3 separate regions of the Homo sapiens genome follow, and all the other regions are linked to region 1. The links are contacts of gene promoters, found by promoter capture Hi-C in human tissues and cell types (Jung and others, 2019). All regions are on one chromosome and are shown on one strand. The core of a region is centred on a gene start or on the middle of the fragment in contact, and the rest is flanking DNA. Distances in the headings are between cores, read along the strand shown. Region 1 holds the start of ATG14 (autophagy related 14). Region 2 overlaps KTN1 (kinectin 1). Region 3 has its middle 32 kb from the start of FBXO34.

Region 1 (3,993 bases), core at 434-2,933:
ATTGAGAAGTGTGGCGCCGCCCCCTCCCCTTAAAGAAATATTTAAACTACATTTTGTATCCAAAAACCTCAGTGCTCTGCTGTTAAGTAATACATTAATATGCGTTCTCTGAAAATATATAGCAACATATAGGAGTTTCAAATAACTGCATAAGCTAGATACTATCTGTGATATCATCTAGCACGATAGGAATTAATGTGTATTTTTTGCCTTTTAAAATATTGAACAGTTGATCCTGATCATTAGGTATTAAGCACTGTGAAGGATCCTGTCTGAATACAAATGAAACATAAGCCCGAGACCTTAAAAAATAATCCTTTTGTTTGAAATGATCAGAGAGAAAGACTTCTCACTTAAAAATAAATCTTAAACTTTCAGGAACCATTCAAGTTTAGTGTAAACTGTATTCTGAATATAGAGAATTTTTGCTTTTGCTTGTTTTTGTAATCCTACGTGATTTGTATTTAAAAAGACTGGGTAAGATTAAGAAGACGGAGGAGCAAAGGGCTCAGATTCAAGACCTAATTAGCTTGTAGAATCACCAGTTTTCGATGGTGATGTGGAGATTAACAGGGAGGGACGGGCTAATATGAATCATGGCTCTTGGCTGTAAATCATCAGTGATTACGTCCTTTACCAAAGTAAGAAAACAGGTTTGTAGGGAGGCAGAAGTCAGTTTCCAACACTTTGAGTTTGTGGTGTCCTGGAATGTCACCTGATACCTAGTAAGTAGTTCTGGATCTTTGGGTATGGAACTTGAGAAAGGAATCCTGGCTAGAGAGAGAATTCAGGGCAGTTTATCAGTAGATAGCCTAGTAAAATCATCCTTGAGAATCACTGGTCTATTTAATCTCACCTATAAACTCACTTTTCTCTGTAGTTTAGAGGCATATTCAAACACTAATTACTCTGATATGATCCTCCCAACACATCACCTTATATATCCCCTATCCACCAAAAGAAACTTGAAGGGAAGTCCTAACCATCTACCTAGTTCAAATTCTCTTAGAGCATGGCCCAGGGTAGGGAAGGTACGTTAGCCACGTGATTAACTTTTCAGAAGGATACAATTCTGATTTTGCACGTTCACTTTGGTTGTTTTCACTATTGGTAAAGTATAATACTATTAACCATATTAATCCTCACGGCATTAGATGGGTACTATAATTCTATCCATTTAACACGAGAGAACAGGCGCAGAGAGATTAAGGAACTTGCCCCAAGTCACACAGCTATTAAGCAGGTGAGTGAGCCAAAATTCAACCTAGTTCCAAGACCCAGCCCCTTCACCCTACTTTGTTTGCTGTAGTTTAGCCAGATTTTAAAGCATCCACAGCAAGTTAAATTCCCTTATTCCGCTCCCATTCCGTTTTCCCAGAATCCTTAGGGTATGGTATTACAATTTTCTGCACAAGTTTGAGGCTTTAACTCGTAGTCTTGGCCTGAGCCAGCAGATGACATTTTGTTTGGCCGACTAGCCCCTCTAATATAACTCTCCCCCTGCTTCGGGACCTGTTGCCCCTCAGCAGACCGGAAAAACAACAGTGCCCGGGACAGGAACACGCGGCGGCGGAGGGGTCCGGGGGCTCGCCGGCATCCCAGCCCCCCTTCCCCAGGCCCCTCCTCCTGGCCCAGAATGCACCCGGTTGAAAACAAAATCCCACGTGACTGGCTCTCCTCTCAGGCCATCATGGCGTCTCCCAGTGGGAAGGGAGCCCGGGCGCTGGAGGCTCCTGGCTGCGGGCCCCGGCCGCTCGCCCGGGACCTGGTGGACTCCGTGGACGATGCGGAGGGGCTGTACGTGGCTGTGGAGCGCTGCCCGCTGTGCAACACTACCCGCCGGCGGCTGACCTGCGCCAAATGCGTTCAGAGCGGCGATTTCGTCTACTTCGACGGCCGCGACCGGGAGAGGTACGGCGGCCGCCACGGCCCTATTGTTTCTTCTGCTGTGTGTCCTCCAGCCAGGCAGCCGAAGGCTGGAACCTGGGGCTCCCCGTCCGGGCACCAGATACCAGCGAGAGGAGCGAGAGAGAGGGAGTGTAGCTAGCTGCTCTGCACCGGAGCTTTGCTACCAGAGGACAGCGTAGGGGCCAGATGAGGGAAGGTCGCCGTTTCCCCATCACCCACCCAAGAGGAGTTTGACCCCACGGTGCTCTTGGTCACTGGGGAAAAAAGGAATAAGTGGTGACTCTCTGGAGAAGTTTTCCCGTTGCTGCCATTAAGTTAGATTCCCAGCTCTTTGCTGTATGTACTCCCATTCAAAAGCTTGGCTTTCTATTTTCGAAAGCATATTTATACTCATTCTCTAGAGGAGAGAGTAGAAGAGAATCAAATAACTGCTTTAGAGGGATTTGGGCCTGGTAGTCTGTCACAGATGGACTTTGTTATCAGACATGCTTACTCTAATGTGTGAATTGAGGCTTGCTGTTAACGCCCCTTTCCCCTCCCTGCCTCTAAAGATTATTTTAGATTCTTAGGAATTTGGGAACGTGTTTTGGCCTTGTTTTAAAATTCAGATTGGGAGCTGCATGCTTTTAGTTAAGAGAATTGCCTTTAGGAAAATGTTTTGGTTTCATTTCGAAATCTAAACAGCTACAAGTTCTTGGTTAAGAAAATTGAAAAATTAGTGTGATTAGCTGCAGGATCTCCCACTCTCAACTTATGTTTCAACAATTTAGTGTCAATGATAGTCAATGATAGTAAGATAGCTAGCATTCTGAGCACAAAAATTCAGGTATTAATTCATTCGCAACAACCGAATGACTTATCCCCAACTTATTAGGAAGCTGCACAGTAAGTGCTTTGCCCCAGGTCACACAAATAGTTAAGTGTTGGTACAAGAATTAAAATTCAGACAGCTTGGACCTATGTACCCGCACTTAACCACTAGACTTTATATCCTCTATATTTGGGAATGTTTTGAGTTCTTAGTATTTCTGTGATCGTGGATGGAGTTCTTTCCTTTCTCTTTTGAGGAGGTTTGAATGACAAACTCTTTTTTAGTTTTGTTGCTGTGTCTTATTGGTGCTCTTGATGACTTTAGAAACTGCTTATGTAGTAAGTGATAGCTTTAAAAATTAAACCAGTTATAAGAATACGGGGTATGAGATGGAAATGTCTAACTGATGGAGTGAATCGAGGATTTGGTTCTGGACCTTCTTGTCTGTCTACACGTTTTACTATGTCTATTCACATAATTTAAATACCATCTATATGCTTAAGACTGCCAGACTTGTATCTCCAACCTAGTCTTCTCTAAAGTCCAGAAAACAGCTGCTTATTCAACATCAATATTTTTAGATTTGTAATAGATATCTTCATTTTAATATGGCAAACTGAACTCCTTGTTTTCCATCATAAATCTGTTTTCCCATGCTCATCCCAACCCAGTAAATGTCAATCTCATTGTTCCTTTGGTTCAGGCTAAAAAACCTTTCAGTTCTCCTTGACTCCTCTCTTAACCCAACTCTGTTTAGTCCCATCAACAAATCCCATCTACTCTTCAAAACTTATCTTACAACAAATCCCATCTACTCTTCAAAACTTATCTTAAATCTTACCCTTTCACCATCACCTGGTCCAATCTACCAGAGACATAAACTTATTTCCTCTTATGTCTCTGCTTCCGTCCTTGCTCCCCTTTTGTACAATTTCCATATTGCAGCCACAGTTATGCTACTCCTCCATTTCTGTTCAAATCTTCCAGTGGTTTTTCACTTTACCCAAAGTAAAAGCTGGAGTCCTTAACCAAAGTTCTATATTATCTGTTCCTCTGATTTAATCTCCTATTATTTTCTCCCTTACCTAATCTGCTGTGCCACTGTGGCCTCCTTGTCTGTCCTCAAACATACCAAGAACACTCCTTCCTCAGGACCTTCGCAGTGGTATTTAGACAGCCAGGAACTCTTTCTCTCAGAAATCTTCAGGGCTGCCTCCTTTGTTTTTTTTTTTAGGTGCCTGCTCATACGTTAGACTCTTTCTGATCCTTCTATT
Region 2 (3,993 bases), core at 787-3,286, 230 kb before region 1:
CTTATGTCCAAAGTGGGATTTCTCCCTCAGTATTCCCTTATCTTCCCTTATCTTCAGACAGCCAAGCAGCCTGACCAAAAAGATTTAGGGTCTTTCTCCTAGAACATTCTCTTCTGTGCACCTCTTTCCCAATCTTGCTAGTTTCTTACTTTTTTCCCATTTTTTTGTTTTTCCCAATCTTATTACAATCATTTTTTACAAATGATATTAATTTTTCCACTGCCCTATCCAAGTCCTAAAATTCCACTCTGTACATATTTATGAAATTAAACCCTTCTCTTTAATGCCTAAGTTTTGGCCCTCAGCTTACTCATCTCAAATATCATAATACCCTAATTCTTCTCTCTGCTTCTAGTTCATAAGAATTGTTTTGTAGGAGGCACAGGAAAAAACTTCCCAATGGGAAAAAATAATCCAAACATGAGAAGGGAAATAGGAGTTGTCAAAAGTACATTAAATCAGGTTTATACTATGAAAAACAAATCATGCATTAAGCCTTTAAATCATTCATGAAGATGGCTTTTGTCCATCTATATTTTCAATGAATGCCATCTCACAAAAAGACATAACACTATTAAGTCTAAGTTACCTGCACCTTAACCATTTACTGTATTGTACCTTTAGTTACTCCTACCTACCAGAGTATTCTTTCTAAAATGTTAGGCTAAATGCTCATTTATCCTTGCAACACTCTTTAGTGGCTTACCCACATGCTGCATCAGGTTCATGGTCCTGACACAGCATACAAAGCCCTTCATAATTAGGTCTTAGCAAATCTTTCTCTACTCCTTACATCCTTCCTGTATTTTGTACTTCTGCAATATACCAATACTCTGAATATGCCAATCTTGCCACACTGTCATGTCTTTGAACATTGTATTCCCTCAGCCTGGACTGTCTCTTAGCTCTTTGGCAAATTCATGCTCATTTTTCAAAACGAGGTTTAGTTGTTCCCTGTGTTACCTCCCCACCTCCTTCAAATATTAATAGAATGCATTATCTCTTCCTCTAAACCTGTATAGAGTTCAGAAACTTCATTCACCATAACTTTCTGTTTAACATATCTATCTCCATATTAGGAGGGCAAGAATCAAGTCTCATTCATCTCTGCAACCTCAGCATGTAGGTAAGCAACTAGCATATACTCAACTAGTAAATAAGTATTTGATGAATTTTTTTTAATGAAGTTCCAGTTTAGAAAGTATTCTTGGTCTGCAGCTCATCAAATACTCTATTGCATAAACCTGACTCAGCTTAGTTTGCATCTCCTCCAACATTTTTACTTTACTTCATACTTTATTGGTTTAATCCAATCCTACTGTTTCCTCCCCTAGATGATTTCCAAAACTAAACCATATACAATATATTCTGCAATACAATTTAACAAGGCAGTAGGGCAAAAAGAAGAAACTTCTTATAGTTTTCACTTAATAATCTTGATCACTGAATCTTAAAAATCTACTGGAATAAGAATGTCATGCTGCTCCTTCACTAAAAGTCAAAATGTGCTCCCCCACAGCAAAAAAAAAAAAAAAAAAAGTCTTATTCTGAGTAAATGAAATATTAGTAAATGATTTATTTGCATTATCTGACCATCTGCAAGCCTAAATCCAAATGCAGCCTTCCCTCCTTTAGGGTATCAACAGGTTAACTTACTTGGTACCTGTTGTCTTTCTGCTTCCTACACCTGAAGAAACAACAACTTGGCACCATTATTGGTTTCTGCTTTTATACGCTCAATCTTTTCCTCCAGAATAAAAATCCATGGGGTAAAAGGACTGAAATTTTTACATAACTAAACTGTTCAATCTCTCAACTGTCACTTGGAATTCTGACTGTGGGATAGAAAGGGGTTAAAGAAAAGTGGAAATGACAGAAATTAAGATTATACCAATCTTTTCTCTTCTTTCACTAGCAGCAACAATAAAAACGACTAGAGGAAAAGCCACAGAAATGATTCTTTGTCTGCCAAGATGAAAGAAGTCTCAACTATAACCAAAACCTCAGTCATATGCTTTCTAGACTATTAATAAAAAGCTTTCAGAGTCAGAAGAACAATTCTAAGAATTACCCAACAGATCTTAAATTAGTATCACAAAATGAGTTTCCCCCTTATCAAATAATTCTTTTAAATAAATCAAAAAATGTGGCTATAAAATTTTATCCTGTGAATTATTCTTCATAACAAAAGCACATCTCATACTAAAAGTTGTCACTTTAACAAAACATCTAAAAGTACGTAGAAACATTATAATAAAAGGCTGACTTAATAAGATAGCAATAATATTAACTTTCATAAATATGATTGGGAATTTTACATAAGGTATTACAATGGCATTTCTCAAGGTATTACATGATTTTAAAGGAAAAGAAAAATTTAAGGCTGGTGGTTTTACTTTTATCTAATGATGGAAAATACCATTTTTAGCAAAGAACAGAAGTTTTCTGTTTAAATAAGAGTCGCCAGCACCTGGATACTACTAGAATATAAGAATTCTAGGACAGTTTCAGAAGTTTCTAAGCATTTGTTTTACCTCCATGAAGTTAATTTTAAAGTTTAAAACTTCATACACTGGTTATCAGCATTTCAAAAATCTCTGGTAACTAACACACAGAAACTATACTCTGCTTTTCCAAGTAAGAACACACACACAAAAATCTATTACATTTTATCTAATCCAAGTCACCAATGTTATATCTCACCACTGCTATTTAACAGTAAAAATTAAAAATGTTGCCAACTAAACAACTAAACTGTAACCAGAGACTACAAGATACATTCTTATTTCAGAGATGGTAAGGGAGGGTGGGGGGAGAGAAATCTTATAATTGGTATCATATCTTTTTTGTAAGCTATACCAGAAAAGGAAATAAGACAAAAATAAGCCTTAGCTGGGCACAGTGGCTCACATCTGTAATCCCAGCACTTTGGGAGGCCGAGGCAGGCAGATCACTTAAGGCCAGGAGTTCAAGACCAGCCTGGCTAATATTGCAAAACCCCGTCTCTGCTAAAAATACAAAAATCAGCGGAGCATGGTGGCATATGCCTGTAGTCCCAGCTACTCAGGAGACTGAGGCACGAGAATGGCTTTAACCTGGGAGGTGGAGGATACAGTGAGCCAAGATAGTGCTACTGAACTCCAGCCTGGGCAACAGAGGAAGACTCTGTCTCAAGAAGAAAAAAAAAAAAAAGAATAAGCCTTAAATGCCATTTAAACTAAATATCATCCCTTCAGCACTGTCTCCTCTATTACCTTTAGTTTACAAGGGTAAAGCAAATACAAAGTAAGTAGTAAGACTATGTAATAATGCACTTAATATCATACGGGGAGGTAGAATAAATGGATTATTTCTTGACAAGTTAACAAAATACTTCCAGAGGCACAGCTACTTACACCAGCTCAATATCTGCATAAATGTGAATTTTAAAATAAATGAAAGAACGCATGCATTTGCTAAAGAAGTGCTATCATTTGCAATGGCTTTACATTTCGGCTTCCAATAAAAGTACAATTCAAAAACTTAATATTAGGAACAAACGCAAACTTCCTATTCTAATGTGTCATCAAGAGTTTGTGTTTTATTAATAAATTGTAATTGTAAGAGCTGCGTAGAAGAAGAGTACGAAGGCAGCACTGAGGAATAGGCAGAGAACAGATACCACTGGGCTCTAATTTATGGAACCATGCTTATTCAAAGCTGATATAGTTTTGATGTCTTGCTATAAATATAAAATGAATAGTGATGGTGGCAGGGGATGGAGATGAGATGGATAAAATAAATACTCTAAGGGAAAAGAATTAAGGTTTAGATACCTGTCATAAACAAAGCACTAGACTAGGCACCATACATAAGCTTCTCCTTTCAAATCTAACAACTTTATGGTGTAAATATAATATAATCTCCATGTGAAAGGCTTGGAATGAGAGGTGTCACAAAGGTTAAGCTATTTGATCAACATCACACTGCTTTTAAGTGCTAGTAATAAGTTTC
Region 3 (3,993 bases), core at 1,106-3,605, 170 kb after region 1:
AAGCGCACCTGCCTTTGCCTCCCAAAGTGCTGGAATTACGGGCATAAGCCACTGAGGCAGGCCAAGGAAAACTTTACCTTATAATAGAATGCCAACTAATAAATGTAGAAATAATAATGTAATTAGAATAGCATCGTTTGTCAACCATTATAGTAATAATTGATTTAGGTAAGAACCAATAATGGATGCTAAAGCCAGTGGCGGGGGTGCTGGGGAATGTGATGAAGAACACGATATTCATATAACATAAAAGTAGCTCTCGCCGGCCCCCGCCAGCTGCGGAGCAACCCGCGAGCGAGCTCACACCGGTTTCTCTCCATCCTCAGCTTGCGCGCCACCATCGCCGTCGTGCTGGGGCCGCTCTCCACCGCTGCGCGGTGACTGCAACCGCCCGGGCCGGCCCTCGAGGCCTCCTGCATTCCGCCCCAACCCCCGGCCCCGCCGCGGCTATCCAGTCAGTTCACTGCTATTCCCATGGGTCACGAGACAGATGAGGAGTTTGATGCTCTCTGAGTAACATACTTCAACAAGCCAGATATAGATGCCTGGCAATTGCGTAAAGGGATGAACACACTTGTTAGCTATGATCCGGTTCCAGAGCCCAAAATTGTTGATGCTGCTTTGCGGGCATGCAGACGGTTAAACGATTTTGCTAGTGCAGTTGGCATCCTAGAGGCTGTTAAGGACAAAGCAGGACCTCATAAGGAAATCTACCCCTATGTCATACAGGAACTCAGACCAACTTTAAATGAACTGGGAATCTCCACTCCGGAGGATCTGGGCCTTGACAAGGTGTAAACCCCATGGATGGGCTTTGCAAGGATTTATTGATATTGCTACTTGTGTGTAAACAGTTACCTGGAAATACTGATGATAATATATACCTTATTTGAACAAGTTTTCCTTTATTGAGTACCAACCCATGTAATGGTAACCTGGACTTTAATAAAAGGGAAATGAGTTTGAACTGAAAAAAAAAAAGTAGCTCTCCACAAAATACCTATTAATAACTTTTAACCTAGTAAGTACAAAATACTTATTAATTAATTTTACAGTGAAGAAATTCAGCAGACACCATCTTAACCAAGTGATAAAAGTCAACCCTGATAGAAATAGAACAAATTACGTTGTTGCCTTCTGATGCTGCACTGAGAAGAACATAGCATCACTTCTGTGGTACGCCTCCATAAAAACCCACTACCAACAAATAACCTGAATCTAACCATGAGAAACTTAAGGCAAACTCAAGCGTAGGGACAGTCTACAAATTAATTGCCTGTTCTCTTTTAAACGGTCAACATGAAAGACATGGAAAAACTGAGGAATCTCCAAGTTGAAGGAGGTTAAGAAGACATAACAATTAAATTCAACACATGATCTTCTATTGGTTCCTGGGTCAGAAAGGAAAGGGTGATTATAAAGCACATTATGGAGACAATCAGTGAAATTTGAATCTAGTCTGCAGATTGGATGTTAGTATTGTATTAATTTTAATTTATTGATTATAATGATTTTACTGGACTTTTATATGTTTTATATACAAAATGAGAGAGAAAAAGATAATATGGTAAAATATTAATTGATTAGGGAATCTAAGTAAAGGATAAAGAGAAGTCTCTGAATTATTCCTGCAATTTGCTGTAAGATTGAAATTATTTTAGAATTATTTTTTAAAAGCATAATGTATCATATAAAATATATTAAATTTCAGTTCCCTGAAAGTTATAGGGCTTCTAGAAACATGACAGTGAGAGCATGGTTTTGGATCTTCTCAAACCCCCTGCATATGAACAGAGAAACTAGACAACAAAATTAAAACTCAAGGATAACATTTACAGCTAAAGAAGATGGCAAGGCATCCCCACAAACCACAGAATAGAAGCATATGGGGACACACCATCGTCAACCACAAGACCTGCATGATGTTGGAGTGTGTGTAAGAGACAGGAAAGGGAGCCCATGAGACATTTGATAGAGTGAGAACAGGAGAATCCAAAGAGCAACAGCATTCACTGGAAAGCACAATGGGTCAATCCATGAGTGGCAACTGAAACTGGTAGGGGTTTTGCCCATTTTAATTGCAGAAGAGCACAAGGAAACTCAGTAAGACCTAAAGGGGTGGGGACATTCTAACCCCTCTGAATTTACAATACTGAATGTCCAAATCTCACTTCCAGGACACAGCTCTGAGAGAAACTGCTGGGTGTGGGATCAAAATTGATCAAGATAGGGACAACACATAAAAAGGAGATCCAGGCCGGGCATGGTGGCTCACACCTGTAATCCCAGGATTTTGGGAGGCCGAGGCGGGTGGATCACCTGAGGTGGGGAGTTCGAGACCAGCCTGATAAACATGGAGAAACCCCGTCTCTACTAAAAATACAAAATTAGCCAGGCATGGTGGCGCATGCCTGTAATCCCAGCTACTCGGGAGGCTGAGGCAGAAGAATCACTTGAACCCAGGAGGCCCGGAGGTTGCAGTGAGCCGAGATCGCGCCAGTGCACTCCAGCCTGGGCAACAAGAGTGAGACTCCATCTCAAAAAAAAAAGGAGATCCAGATAAAAAGTAAATAAGGAGAGCAGAGCCAGGAAATCTCAAAACTGCAGACAGTTATATATTTAAAACTTTACACAAAAGCGAAGAAGTACCTCAGTGATGTTAGCAAAATCTATCTGAACCTAGCCACCATTAGAAGTTCAGAAAAACTAATTTTACTTAAGAACGAACAATAGAAAAATACTAAGGTCAAATTCCAAATTTACTAAAAGAAAAAAAGAGAATACGGAGCAGAATAACATTCCTGCAAAAAATGAAAGTACACCATAAAGACATATTCAAGAAGCAGATCAAAACGATAATGCGAAAAAAAAGACTAAAAACTATAATGTGGCCAGACGCAATGACTCATATGGCTCATGCCTATAATCCCAGCACTTTGGGAGGCCAAAGTGGGTGGATCATTTGAGCCCAGGAATTCCAGAACAGCCTGGGCAACATGGCGAAACCCCGTCTCTACAAAAAATTAGTTGGGTGTGGTGGTGCACGTCTGTGGTTCCAGCTACTCGCGGGGCTGAGCCAGGAGGATCGCTTGAGCCCAGCAGTTCGAGAGCAACCTGGGCAACATAGGGAAACCCCATCTCTAAAAAAGAGGAAAAAAGAAAAAAAAATTATAGTAACGATTAACACTAAACTAGAAGAAAAAAGGGAAACACACTCACACACACACACACAAAATGCTTTAAGAGAAGTAGTAGATGAAAGGAGGAAGTTGCCTGTAGAACTAAGACAAAATAAAATTTAAAAGGGAGGCAGATGATAGAATATAAAGGTTATATGCTCTGACAGGGTAGCTATGATACAACAATTTAAAACTGGGGTAAGAATGGGGATAACATATAAAAAATTATTTACCATTTTCAGTAGTTGGTGGTGATTGTATTATGAATATTAATTGCCAGTAGTAAAGTTGTTATTCTAAAATAACTACTATTATTATTCTGAGATTGCTGGTTTTATGTGGGAAAAAGTAAATGAAAGTCATGAAATTTTCAAATTCTATCATCCCCTGTTACCTTGAGAACTAGGGTTCTTGGCATGGAGGAAAGGAGATATAGATTTAATATAGAAGTTAACTAAAAACCTTGTAGTTATAATTTAAAATGCAAATGTTAGTATAAACTCTGGAAAGGAAAATAAATCTCTGGGCCCCAAAATCACTCAAGCTGGGAACTGCTTAGGGCAAATCTGCCTCCCCTTCTATTCAAAGTCACCCCCCTCTGCTCCCTGTGATAAATATATACATATCTGATTGCCTCATTTGGAGAAGCTAATCAGAAGTTCAAAAGAATGCAACCATTTGAATCTTATCTACCTGTGACCTGGAAGCCGCCTCCCTGCTTAGAGTTGTCCTGCTTTTGCCTCAAGTTGTCCCACCTTTCCAGACTGAACCAATGTACATCTTACACACATTGATGTCTCATGTCTCCCTACGA

What was found. Contacts are between HindIII fragments. The study calls those that stand out against the background at their distance.
Region 2: a contact is called between a fragment that was not itself captured here and the fragment with the promoter of ATG14 in region 1, in 2 of the 25 tissues and cell types used here (aorta and hippocampus).
Region 3: a fragment that was not itself captured here is called in contact with the fragment with the promoter of ATG14 in region 1 in 1 of the 25 tissues and cell types used here (IMR-90 fibroblasts).

Annotation. Positions count from the first base shown.
Region 1 is chr14:55,409,520-55,413,512 of GRCh38, reverse strand. It overlaps ATG14 (autophagy related 14), which reads left to right and starts at 1,683. Exons shown (of 10, transcript NM_014924.5): 1 at 1,683-1,911. The coding sequence starts at 1,691. It also overlaps a transcript of FBXO34 not described here. RefSeq lists a silencer at 1,394-1,693. The HindIII fragment of the contact is 14,251 bases long and covers 1-3,993 here.
Region 2 is chr14:55,642,107-55,646,099 of GRCh38, reverse strand. All of the region lies in intron 18 of KTN1 (kinectin 1), which reads right to left. Among named protein-coding and RNA genes, the nearest start is that of KTN1, 64 kb to the right of the region's middle. The HindIII fragment of the contact is 7,767 bases long and covers 1-3,993 here.
Region 3 is chr14:55,237,427-55,241,419 of GRCh38, reverse strand. It overlaps the pseudogene COX5AP1. Among named protein-coding and RNA genes, the nearest start is that of FBXO34, 32 kb to the left of the region's middle. The HindIII fragment of the contact is 9,558 bases long and covers 1-3,993 here.